3 separate regions of the Homo sapiens genome follow, and regions 1 and 3 are each linked to region 2. The links are contacts of gene promoters, found by promoter capture Hi-C in human tissues and cell types (Jung and others, 2019). All regions are on one chromosome and are shown on one strand. The core of a region is centred on a gene start or on the middle of the fragment in contact, and the rest is flanking DNA. Distances in the headings are between cores, read along the strand shown. Region 1 overlaps TEK (TEK receptor tyrosine kinase). Region 2 holds the start of PLAA (phospholipase A2 activating protein). Region 3 has its middle 160 kb from the start of CAAP1.

Evidence for each region. The method cuts DNA at HindIII sites, captures the fragments that hold promoters and counts their contacts. A contact is called where the count stands out against the background at its distance.
Region 1: a contact is called between a fragment that was not itself captured here and the fragment with the promoter of PLAA in region 2, in 2 of the 25 tissues and cell types used here (IMR-90 fibroblasts and mesenchymal stem cells).
Region 3: a fragment that was not itself captured here is called in contact with the fragment with the promoter of PLAA in region 2 in 1 of the 25 tissues and cell types used here (IMR-90 fibroblasts).

What each region holds. Positions count from the first base shown.
Region 1 is chr9:27,175,478-27,179,223 of GRCh38, forward strand. All of the region lies in intron 6 of TEK (TEK receptor tyrosine kinase), which reads left to right. Among named protein-coding and RNA genes, the nearest start is that of TEK, 68 kb to the left of the region's middle. The HindIII fragment of the contact is 3,143 bases long and covers 836-3,746 here.
Region 2 is chr9:26,944,770-26,948,618 of GRCh38, forward strand. PLAA (phospholipase A2 activating protein) reads right to left here and starts at 2,473. Exons shown (of 14, transcript NM_001031689.3): 1 at 2,128-2,473. The coding sequence starts at 2,276. It also overlaps a transcript of IFT74 not described here. RefSeq lists enhancers at 1,548-2,223, 1,967-2,226, 2,224-2,897, 2,487-2,796. The HindIII fragment of the contact is 5,571 bases long and covers 1-3,777 here.
Region 3 is chr9:26,731,309-26,735,049 of GRCh38, forward strand. No RefSeq gene overlaps it. Among named protein-coding and RNA genes, the nearest start is that of CAAP1, 160 kb to the right of the region's middle. The HindIII fragment of the contact is 3,842 bases long and covers 36-3,741 here.

The DNA.
Region 1 (3,746 bases), core at 1,157-3,656, 230 kb after region 2:
TTTATAATCCTTTGGGTATATACCCAGTAATGGGGTGGCTGGGTAAAATGGTATTTCTAGTTCTAGATCTCTGAGGAATCGCCACACTGACTTCCACAATGGTTGAACTAGTTTTCAGTCCCACCAACAGTGTAAAAGTGTTCCTATTTCTCCACATCCTCTCCAGCACCTGTTGTTTCCTGACTTTTTAATGATCGCCATTCTAACTGGTGTGAGATGGTATCTCATTGTGGTTTTGATTTGTATTTCTCTGATGGCCAGTGATGATGAGCATTTTTTCATGTGTCTTTTGGCTGCATAAATGTCTTCTTTAGAGAAGTGTCTCTTCATATCCTTTGCCCACTTTTTGATGGGGTTGTTTGTTTTTTTCTTGTAAATTTGTTTGTGTTCATTGTAGATTCTGGATATTAGCCCTTTGTCAGATGAGTAGGTTGTGAAAATTTTCTCCCATTTTGTAGGTTGCCTGTTCACTCTGATGGTAGTTTCTTGCCCAGGTTTATAAGAGTACATTTCATGAACTCATCTCAGCCCATTCCTGGCTCAAGAAATCACCAAGATTTTATGAATAGAACTGTTCTAATATTCTTCCAGACTCCTTTCAACAATTACTATCCTGTTCATTCCATCCAAAAAGCAGTAGGAAAGCAAGGAGACATTTCTAACAGTAACTACTTAAGGACATGGTCTCCTTTAATAGTCCAGGATTTAGAATAGTCAACAATAGATTGTACACTGGCAAGTTTTATGTATCAGGGCTGGTTTCTATCTGAGGAAATAAGCAATAATAGAAATTTTTGAAGCAAATAGTGGGGACAATAAAGAGAACAGGGGAATTCCACTGTGCAAATATGTGATAATTCAAAGTCATTCAGAACACTTTGCCAGGAAGAAAGTTCTAGTGTATTCTAGAAACTAAAAAAATCAAGGCTTCATGATATTTTAAGGTCTTCTGCCATCCCAACAGAAACTTGATTTCAGTAGTCAGATTTCCTTTATGCTTATTAATAGTTCTTAACCTTTCTACCATCTGCTTTGAGTAAGAAGTTGTGATTAAGTTTTTTTCCAGCTTTATCAAGGTCTAATTGCTAAATAAAAATTGTATGTAGTTAAGGTGCAAAATGTGATATTTTGATATATCTATACATTGTGAAATGATTACTGCTGTTAAGCTAATTAACATATCCATCACCTCACACAGTTATCTGTGTGTGTGGGTGTGGTGAGAGCATTTAAAATTGCTCAGCACATTTCAAGTGTACAATACAGTAATATTAAGTTTAGCTACCACACTGTCTATTAGAACTCCAGAACTTACTTATCCTACTGTGTAATTAAAAGTTTTTGCCCTTTGACCAACATCTCCCCATTTCCTCCACCCTGTAGTCCCTGGGAACCACTATGCTACTCTGCTTCTATAAGTTTGACTTTTTCAGATTCCACTTATAGAAGAGATCTTACAGTATTGGTCTTTATATGCCTGGCTTATTTCACTTAGCATGGTGCCCTCCAGGTTCATCCGTGTTGTTGCAAATGACAGGATTTCCTTCTTTTCAAAGGCTGAATAATATGCCATTATATATGTGTACACACCACATTTTCTTTATCCATTCATCCATGGATGGACGAATGGTCAAGTCCATATTTTGGCTACTGTAAGCAATGCTGCAATGGACATGAGAAAACAGATGTCTCTTTGAGATAGTGATTTCATTTCTCTTGGATATATACCAGAAATGGGATTGCTGGATCATATGGCAGTTCTATTTTGAGTGTTTTGAAGAACTTCCTTATTGTTTTCCATAATGACTGTACCAATTTACATTCCCACCAACAGCATACAAGGGTTCCCTATTATCTACATCCTTGCCATTCTAGCAGGCGTGATGTGATATCTCATTGTGGTTTTGATTTTCATTTCCCTGATGATCAGTGAGGTTGAGTATTTTTCATAGACCTGTTGGCCATTTGTATGTCGTCTTTTAAGAGATGTCGGCTGGGCACGATGGCTCATGCCTGTAATCCCAGCACTTTGGGAGGCCAAGGCGGGCGGATCACCTGAGGTTGGGAGTTCGAGACCAGCCTGACCAACAACGAGAAACCCCGTCTCTACTAAAAATACAGAATTAGTCAGGCACGGTGGTGCATGCCTTTAATCCCAGCTACTTGGGGGGCTGAGGCAGGAGAATCGCTTGAACCAGGGAGGTGGAGGTTGTGGTGAGCTGAGGTCATGCCATTGCATTCCAGCCTGGGCAACAAGAGTGAAACTCCATCTCAAAAAATGAAAAAGAAAAAAAAAGATGTCTATTCAGGTCCTTTGTCCATTTTTTTATCAGGTTGTTTTCTTGCTATTAAGTGGTTTGCGTTCCTTATATATTCTGGATATTAACCTCTTATCAGGTGTATACTTTGGAAATACATTCTCTTGTTCCATACATTGTTTCTTCACTCTGTTGATTGTTTTCTTTGCTGTGCAGAAGCTTGTTAGTTTGATGCAATCACATTTGTCTATTTGTGCTTTTGTTGTCTGTGCTTTTGAGGTCATATCCAAAAAAATCATTGCCCGGATCAGTATCAAGAAGCTTTTCCCGTCTGTTTTCTTCTAGTAGTTTTACAATTTCAGGTCTTATGTTGTGTCTTTAGTCAATTTTGTTTTGAGTTTTGAATATAATGAGATGAGGTTCTAATTTTATTCTTCTGCTTGTGGTTATCCAGTTTTCCCAGGACTATTTATTGAAGAGATTATCCTTTCCCTGTTGTGTGTTCTTCATACTTTTGTTGAATCTGTTAACTGTAAATGTGTAAATTTATTTCTGGGCTGTCAATTCTGTTCCGTTGGTCTATATGTGTGTTTTTATGCCAGTACCATACTGTTTTTATTACTATAGCTTTGTAATATATTTTGAAATCAGGTAATGTGATGTCTCTAGCTTTGTTCTTCTTGCTCAATATTGCTTTGGCTATTCTAGGCCTTCTGTGGTTCAATATAAATTTTAGTATCGTTTTTTCTATTTCTGTGAAAAATACCATTGCAATTTTGATAGTGATTGTATTGAATTTGTAGATAACTTAGTTGTGATTGATACTAAAAATAAAGACTGCATTTTAGCTGGGTGAATAAAATACAAAATCAAAACAAATCATCATAGCCCCAAAAGACAAGCTTTTGCATTAATTTTTGGTTAGAAGCCTTCTAGTAATGTTACAGTTGACCAAAATAAGGACACCCAGTTAACAGAATCCATTTGCCATGTACCAAATTCTAAGAATTGTCCTGGCAGGTTTAGTGAGCTCCAAGGGAAAATAATGCTTCTACCCTGTCTTCCCAGGAGCTTATTACAAGTATCAAAACATAATTTGAATGGCTTAAATATTCTACTATAAAGAAACAGTCTTAAAAAGCTAACATTTTAAATTATCTTGATTTTTAGTTTTTAGCAGTTTAACCATGATGTGCCTATGCATAGTTTACTTTATATTTATTCTGCTAAGGGCTTAACAAATTTTTGAATGTGTAAATTTCAACAAATTGGGATAATTTAAACCATTATTTCTTCAAATATTTTGTCTAACCCTTTCTCTCTGGTCCTTCTTGGACCTCCAGTTACATGTGTGTTAGATGTTTTGTCTCTTGGGTCCCTAAGGATTAAAAATCATTTTTTTCCAACCTTTTTCCTACTTTTCTTCTTTAGATGGGCTATCTATTGATGTTGCTTCAAGTTTATTGACTCTTTCTTTTGTTATCTCCA
Region 2 (3,849 bases), core at 1,223-3,722:
TGCAAGTTCTTCATCAGTGTTAGATAAATACATACAGGAATGAATTTTGAAAAACAAAAACAAAAAAATCATGAGTTCGGCCAGGCGTGGTGGCTCACGCCTGTAATCCCAACACTGGGAGGCCAAGGTGGGCAGATCACCTGAGGTCAGGAGTTCAAGACCAGCCTGACCAACATGGAGAAACCCCATCTCTACTAAAAATACAAAATTAGCCGGGCATGGTGGCACATGCCTGTAATCACAGCTTCTTGGGAGGCTGAGGCAAGAGAATCGCTTGAACCCCGGAGGCGGAGGTTGCAGTGAGCCAAGATTGTGCCATTGCACTCCAGCCTGGGCAACAAGAGCAAAACTCTGTCTCAAAAAAAAAAAATCAATAGTTCAATGAACAACAAAATCACTTTTCAAATAGAGAATCAGTTCAGCCCAAAGTTCTTCAAGTTCCTGGTAAGCACAACCACTCCAGTGATTAAACCCTTGTCAAACTAGTACAGTCCCAAAAGTTTAATGACAGGATTCCATTATTAAAACAGGCATCCTTGATTATACTCCTTACTGCAATGGTTATATTCTACTGGGCTTATGCTTCTACTGGATTCAATTTTAAAGGCAAAAACTTAATAACTGTACTCAAACAAAAAGTTCCATATTAGTATTACTAAGTAGTTTTGGATATTATAGAATTTTAGAGTTAGATCTTTAGAGATCATCTCATTCAATTCAATACAGGAATTTGCTCTATACTATCCCTAGCCTAGTGGACCATCTTGTGTTGATTATACTACTTCAAAAGCCTCCAAGCAAACCCACTTCTACACTTATCCCTTCTCAATCTATTCTCTACCATCAGCTAGCAGAAACTTCTCAACACGGAAATCAGATCATGTTGCTCCCTGCTTGAAACTATTTGAAGGCTTCCATCTGCAAACTCCATAACCTGGCTCTTGCCAGCCTCAAAACCTGCCCTCACCTCACAGCTAATTCCCTCCTGTTTGCTCCTCCAGCTGCCTGGAATGCTCTTCCAATTCAATCCTCCCTATTTGCTCTTCCACGACCAGCTCCATCCATCTCATGCTTCAAATGTCAACTTTAAACAAACAACTCCTCAGAGAGGCTTCCTTTAATATATCTCTCCACCTAATTAACTGTATGTTTTCTTCACATGCCAGTTTTTAATTATTTATTGGCTTGTTTTTTAATCTATCTTCCCCATCAGACTGTAAGAAAGCTCCAGAAACACTGGCAACTTGTCTGTCTTTATTCCTCTCCAGTATCCCAAACAAAGAGGAGGCACTCAACAGTTATCAACTGAATTTATGGATGGTGACTCAAATTCTAAAATCTCTAGCAGTGGGAGACCTACTAAATAACAAAATAACTAACCTCAATTTTTCTTTCTCTGAACTGCAATCTGTCTTCTAGGTCTTAAATATCCTGTTACAACCAGCCAAATCAGGGCTGAACCCGTGAACTCGATCAGGACTGATTCCTAACCTTTTTCTTCTTTTTTTTTTTGGTTCGTGAACCCTTCTGATAAATCCTTTGAAGGCAATGGATGCTGCTTCTCCTCAAGAAACAGCACATGCACAGAAACAAAACATCCGAGAGGTTTCACTCCCTCAGGACCAGCACAGACCACAGACTAAAATTCTAACCTGGACGAAAAGAGGATTCACCAGTGCAATTTTTGAGAACTAAAGTCTTCAAAAATTAAATTTTACAGAAGACTACAGAGCATCTTCTTCGAAAAAAAAAAAAAAAGAGGACATTTCAGATGCCTTCAAACTACCTCACTTCGGAGGGTGCAACTGCAATCAGTAAATTTTCAAGTCTAAAAGAAACTTGGGAGATCATCGTCCAAAAACTGAAGGCCCAAAAGGTAGGAGACTCGTCTGTGGTCAAGTTAGCACAACAAGGCAGGTCTTTGGTCCCCCAACCCTGTGCTCTTTCCACTTAAATCCCGATGGTTTCTTACAGAGTTCTAATAGTCTGAGAATTGGAAGGGAGCGGAGAGCAGAGGGAAGGCTGGGGGGAGAGAGAGACGGCAGGACTGACAGGGAAGGGTCACTCTCCTTCCACTCTCCGGGAAGCGTGCAACACAGCCGGGGCAACCCGACTCCCAGCGCTCACCTGTCTGGGGCCCAGAGGCGGGTGGTGCGGTCTCGGGACACGGACACAAAGGCTCCCGGCGGATAGGCGCAGCACACCAGGCCCCGTACGTCCAGCTCGTGGCCCCGGAGCGAGCAGCTCAGCCGGTACCTGGTTGCGCCGCTCGTCATGGCCAGTGTCTGTCTGGCGCCCGGTGCCCAGGCACTGTGCGAGACCAGTCCGCAGGGGCGACTCGGAGAGCGCCGGGCCGCGGCGGGAGAAGAGCCTGCAGGTAAGGGGCGGCCGGAGACCGGAAGAGCCCGAGAGCCGGTACGGAAGGGCGGCTGGGAAGGGGCGCGCCGAGCGGGCCGAGTGACACAGCAAGCCTGACAGGCACTCCGGAATTCATCATCGGCCTCAGCCCTCCATGACGCAGAGTGTGTGCGTCCCAACCGCCGACGCCGATGCGGAGCTGAGCTGGCTTTCCTCCAGGGCTCTGGACTCCCTGCTGAGCAAGAGAGAAAGAGGCCCGCCCTTCCACCAGGACGCCTGACCCTGGGGTCCTTCCCAAACCCGGGTCTCTTCCGACTCCGGGCCCAACAGTTTGTGGTAAATCGGGAAGCGGGCCGGGACTACAATTCCCATAATGCCGCGCCAGCTGGCGTGGACATCCGGCGCGCCGAATCCGGATATTTTAAACCTGAGTCTTTCGCGCTGGGCATGGCGGAATGGCTGAGTGAGGTTGTTTGGTGTCTACTGTTAGGTCATCCTCACTGCTTTTCCCTGAGAATCTCGAGGTTTTTGCAAGTTAACCTTGTTTTTCAATTAAAACGAGAAAGCTTGAGGCCAAATTGGGAACTATTAATCATTGAACTATTCCTCCGTTTCAAGTTATCTGAATCTCCTACTCTCTGTTGTCAAATTTAGCAAATACGGTGGTCCAAGTCAATTTTTTAAAGGTATAACTACTTTTCTCTGGCGGCTTGTTAAAATGTAGATTCTGATTCAGTAGGTCTGAGTTAGAGCTGAGATACGTATTTTTAACAACCCCGCCGCCCACCCACCCGTGGTGCTACTTGCTAGTCATTATCAGACCTTATTGAGTGCCAGGGTAAACATGACCTGTCTCCTTACTTTGTTTTCTTCCCATCCGCTATTCTCTCGCATCCAACTACACTTTTCCACAAACCTTTCTAAATTGCTAAGCCCAATTCACACTTTTCTGACTTCTCCCTTCCTAAAACTCCTACTCTAGGTTTGGAATCACTTTTCCCCTGGTTTGGGAGATCATTCTTGAAATGCTGACTTTTGATACTTCTTTGCTATCATATCCCCTCCCTGGGTGGATTATTTACTACTTGGCTTATTTCTAGAGCTGTATTCCCATATTGTCTTCTCCAAACTCTAGATCTGTATTTCTAGCTATCTGTTAGAAATCTGTACCAATTAGTCCTACTTAAATTATTTCAACATTTCTCTGGCCTTTCTACCCCTTCTCTCCAGCCAATCCTACACATTAAAATATAATTATCTTTCTGAAATATACACTTAATTGTTTTTTCTCTGTTTGACAACCTGTGATGGCTTTCCATTATTTTTTTTTTTTTTTTTTTTTTTTTTTTTTTTTTTTTTTTGAGACGGAGTGTCGCTCTGCTGCCAGGCTGAGTGCAGTGGCGCGATCTCGGCTCACTGCAACCCTCGCCTCCCGGGTTCAAGCGATTCCTGCCTCAGCCTCCCGAGTAGCTGGGACTACAGGAGCGCGCC
Region 3 (3,741 bases), core at 707-3,206, 210 kb before region 2:
CTTCACACCCCTTGTGAGTTGTATTCCTAAGTATTTTATTGTCTTTGAAGCAATTGTGAATGGGAGTTCACTCATGATTTGGCTCTCTCTTTGTCTGTTATTGGTGCATAGGAATGCTTGTGATTTTTGCACACTGATTTTGTATCCTGAGACTTTGCTGAAGTTGCTTATCAGCTTAAGGAGATTTTGGGCTGAGACGATGGGGTTTTCTACATATACAATCATGTCATCTGCAAACAGAAACAATTTGACTTCTTCTCATCCTATTTGAATACCCTTTATATCTTTCTCTTGCCTGATTGCCCTGTCCAGAACTTCCAATACTATGTTGAATAGGAGTGGTAAGAGAGGGCATCCTTGTCTTGTGCTGGTTTTCAAAGGGAATGCTTCCAGCTTTTGCCCATTCAGTATGATATTGGCTGTGGGTTTGTCCTAAATAGCTCTTATCATTTTGAGATATGTTGCATCAATACCTAACTTATTGAGAATTTTTAGCATGAAGGAGTGTTGAATTTTATCGAAGGCCTTTTCTGCATCTATTGAGATAATCATGTGGTTTTTGTCATTGGCTGTTTATGTGATGAATTACGTTTATTGATTTGCATATGTTGAACCCGGCTTGCATTCCAGGGATGAAGCCAACTTGATCGTGGTGGATAAACTTTTTCATGTGCTGCTGGATTCAGTTTGCCAGTGTTTTATTGAGGATTTTCACATCAATGTTCATCAGGGATATTGGCCTGAAGTTTTCTTTTTTTGTTGTGTCTCTGCCAGGCTTTGGTATCAGGATGATGCTGGCCTCATAAAATGAGTTAGGGAGGAGCCCCTCCTTTTCTATCGTTTGGAATAATTTCAGAAGGAATGGTACCAGCTCCTCTTGGTACCTCTGGTAGAATTTGGCTGTGAATCTGTCTGGTCCTGGGCTTTTTTTGGTCGGTAGGCTATTAATGACTGCCTTAATTTCAGAACTTGTAATTGGTCTATTCAGGGATTCAACTTCTTCCTGGTTTAGTCTTGAGAGGGTGTACGTGTCCAGGAATTTATCCATTTCCTCCAAATTTTCTAGTATATTTGCATAGAGATGTTTATAGGATTCTCTGATGGTAGTTTGTATTTATGTGGAATCAGCGGTGACATCCCCTTTATCATTTTTTATTGTGTCTATTCTCTATTTTCTTCTTTATTAGTCTGGCTAGTGATCTATCTTTTTGTTGATCTTTTCAAAAACCCAGCTCCTGGATTCATTGATTTTTTCATAGGTCTTTTCGTGTCTCTATCTCCTTCAGTTCTGCTCTGATCTTAGTTATTTCTTGTCCTCTGCTAGCTTTTGAATTTGTTTGCTCTCATTTCTCTAGTTCTTTTCATTGTGACGTTAGGATGTTGATTTTAGATCTTTCCCGCTTTCTCCTGTGGGCATTTAGTGCTATAAATCTCCCTCTAAACGCCGCTTTAGCTGTGTCCCAGAGATTCTGGTACATTGTATCTTTGTTCTTATTGGTTTCAAAGAACTTATTTATTTCTGCCTTAATTTCATTATTTACCCAGTAGTCATTCAGGAGTAGGTTGTTCAGTTTCCACGTAGTTGTGCAGTTTTGAGTGAGTTTCTTAATCCTGAGTTCTAATTTGATTGTACTGTGATCTGAGAGATTGTTATGATTTCTGTTGTTTTGCATTTGCTGAGGAGTGTTTTACTTCCACTTATGTGGTCAATTTTAGAATAAGTGCAAAGTGGTGCTGAGAAAAATGTATATTCTGTTGATTTGAGGTGGAGAGTTCTGCAGATGTCTATTAGGTCCGCTTGGTCCAGAGCTGAGTTCAAGTCCTGAATATCCTTGTTAATTTTCTGTCTAATATTGACAGTGGGGTATTAAAGTCTTCCACTATTATTGTTTGGGAGTCTAAGTCTCCTTGTAGGTCTCTAAGAACTTGCTTTGTGAATCTGGGTGCTCCTGTATTGGGTGCTCCTGTATTGAGTGCGTATATATTTAGGATAGTGAGCTCTTCTTGTTGCATTGCTCCGTTTACCATTATGTAATGCCCTTCTTTGTCTTTTGTGGTCTTTATTGATTTAAAGTCTGTTTTATCAGAGACTAGGATTGCAACCCCTGCTTTTTTTTTTTTTTTCTTTCTGTTTGTTTGGTAAACTCCCTTTATTTTGAGCCTGAGTGTGTCTTTGCACGTGAGATGGGTCTCCTAAATACAGCACACTGATGGCTCTTGACTCTTTATCTAATTTGCCAGTCTGTGTCTTTTAATTGGGGCATTTAGCCTTATTGTTATGTGTGAATTTGATCCTGTCATTAGGATGCTAGCTGGTTATTTTGCCTGTTAGTTGAGGCAGTTTCTTCATAGTGTTGATGGTCTTTACAATTTGGTATGTTTTTGCAGTGGCTGGTACTGGTTTTCCTTTCCATATTTAGTGCTTTCTTCAGGAGCTCTTCTAAGGTAGGCCTGGTGGTGACAAAATCTCTCAGCATTTGCTTGTCTGTAAAGGATGTTATTTCTCCTTCACTTATGAAGCTAGTTTGGCCAGATATGAAATTCTCAGTTGAAAATTCTTTTCTTTAAGAGTATTGAATATTGGCCCCCACTCTTTTCTGGCTTGTAGGGTTTCTGCAGAGAGATCCACTGTTAGTCTGATGGGCTTCCCTTTATGGGTAACCTGACCTTTCTGTCTGACTGCCCTTAACACTTTTTCCTTCATTTCAACCTTGGTGAATCTGATGATTATGTGTCTTGGAGTTGCTCTTTTCAAGGAGTATTTTGTGGTGTCCTCTGTATTTCCGGAATTTGATTGTTGGTCTGTCTTGCTAGGTTGGGGAAGTTCTCCTGGATGATATCCTGAAGAGTGTTTTCCAACTTGGTTCCATTCTCCCCATCACTTTCAGGTACACCAATCAAATGTAGGTTTGGTCTTTTCACATAGTCCCATATTTCTTGGACACTTTATTTGTTCCTTTTCATTCTTCTTTCTCGAATCCTGTCTTCACACTTTATTTCATTAAGTTGACCTTCAATCTCTGATATCCTTTCTTCTGCTTGATCAATTCACCCACTGATACTTGTGTATGCTTCACTAAGTTCTCATTTCGTGTTTTTCAGCTCCATCAAGTCATTTATGTTCTTGTCTAAACTGGTTATTCTAGTTAGCAATTCCTCTAACCTTTCGTCAACGTCCTTAGCTTACTTGCATTGGGTTAGAAATGCTCCTTTAGCTCAGAGAAGTTTGTTATTACCCACCTTCTGAAGCCTACTTCTGTCAATTCATCAAACTCATTCTCCATCCAGTTTTGTTCCCTTGCTGCTAAAGAGTTGTGGTCCTTTGGAGGAGAAGAGACATTCTGGTTTTGGGAATTTTCAGCTACTTTGCACCGGTTCTTTTTCATCTTCATGGATTTATCTACCTTTGGTCTTTGATGTTGGTGACTTTCGGATGGAGTTTTTGTGTAGACGTCCTTTTTGTTGATGTTGATGCTATTCCTTTCTATTTGTTAGTTTTCCTTCTAACAGTCAGGCCCCTCTGCTACAGGTCTGCTGTAGTTTGCTGGAGGTCCACTCCAGACCCTGTTTGCCTGGTTATCACTAGCGGAGGCTGCAAAACAGCAAAGATTGCTGCTGTTCCTTCCTCTGGAAGCTTCATCCCAGAGGGGCACCCACCAGATGTCAGCCACAGCACTCCTGTATGAGGTGTCTTGTCAACCCCTGCTGGGAGGTGTCTGCCCATCAAGAGACATGGGCATC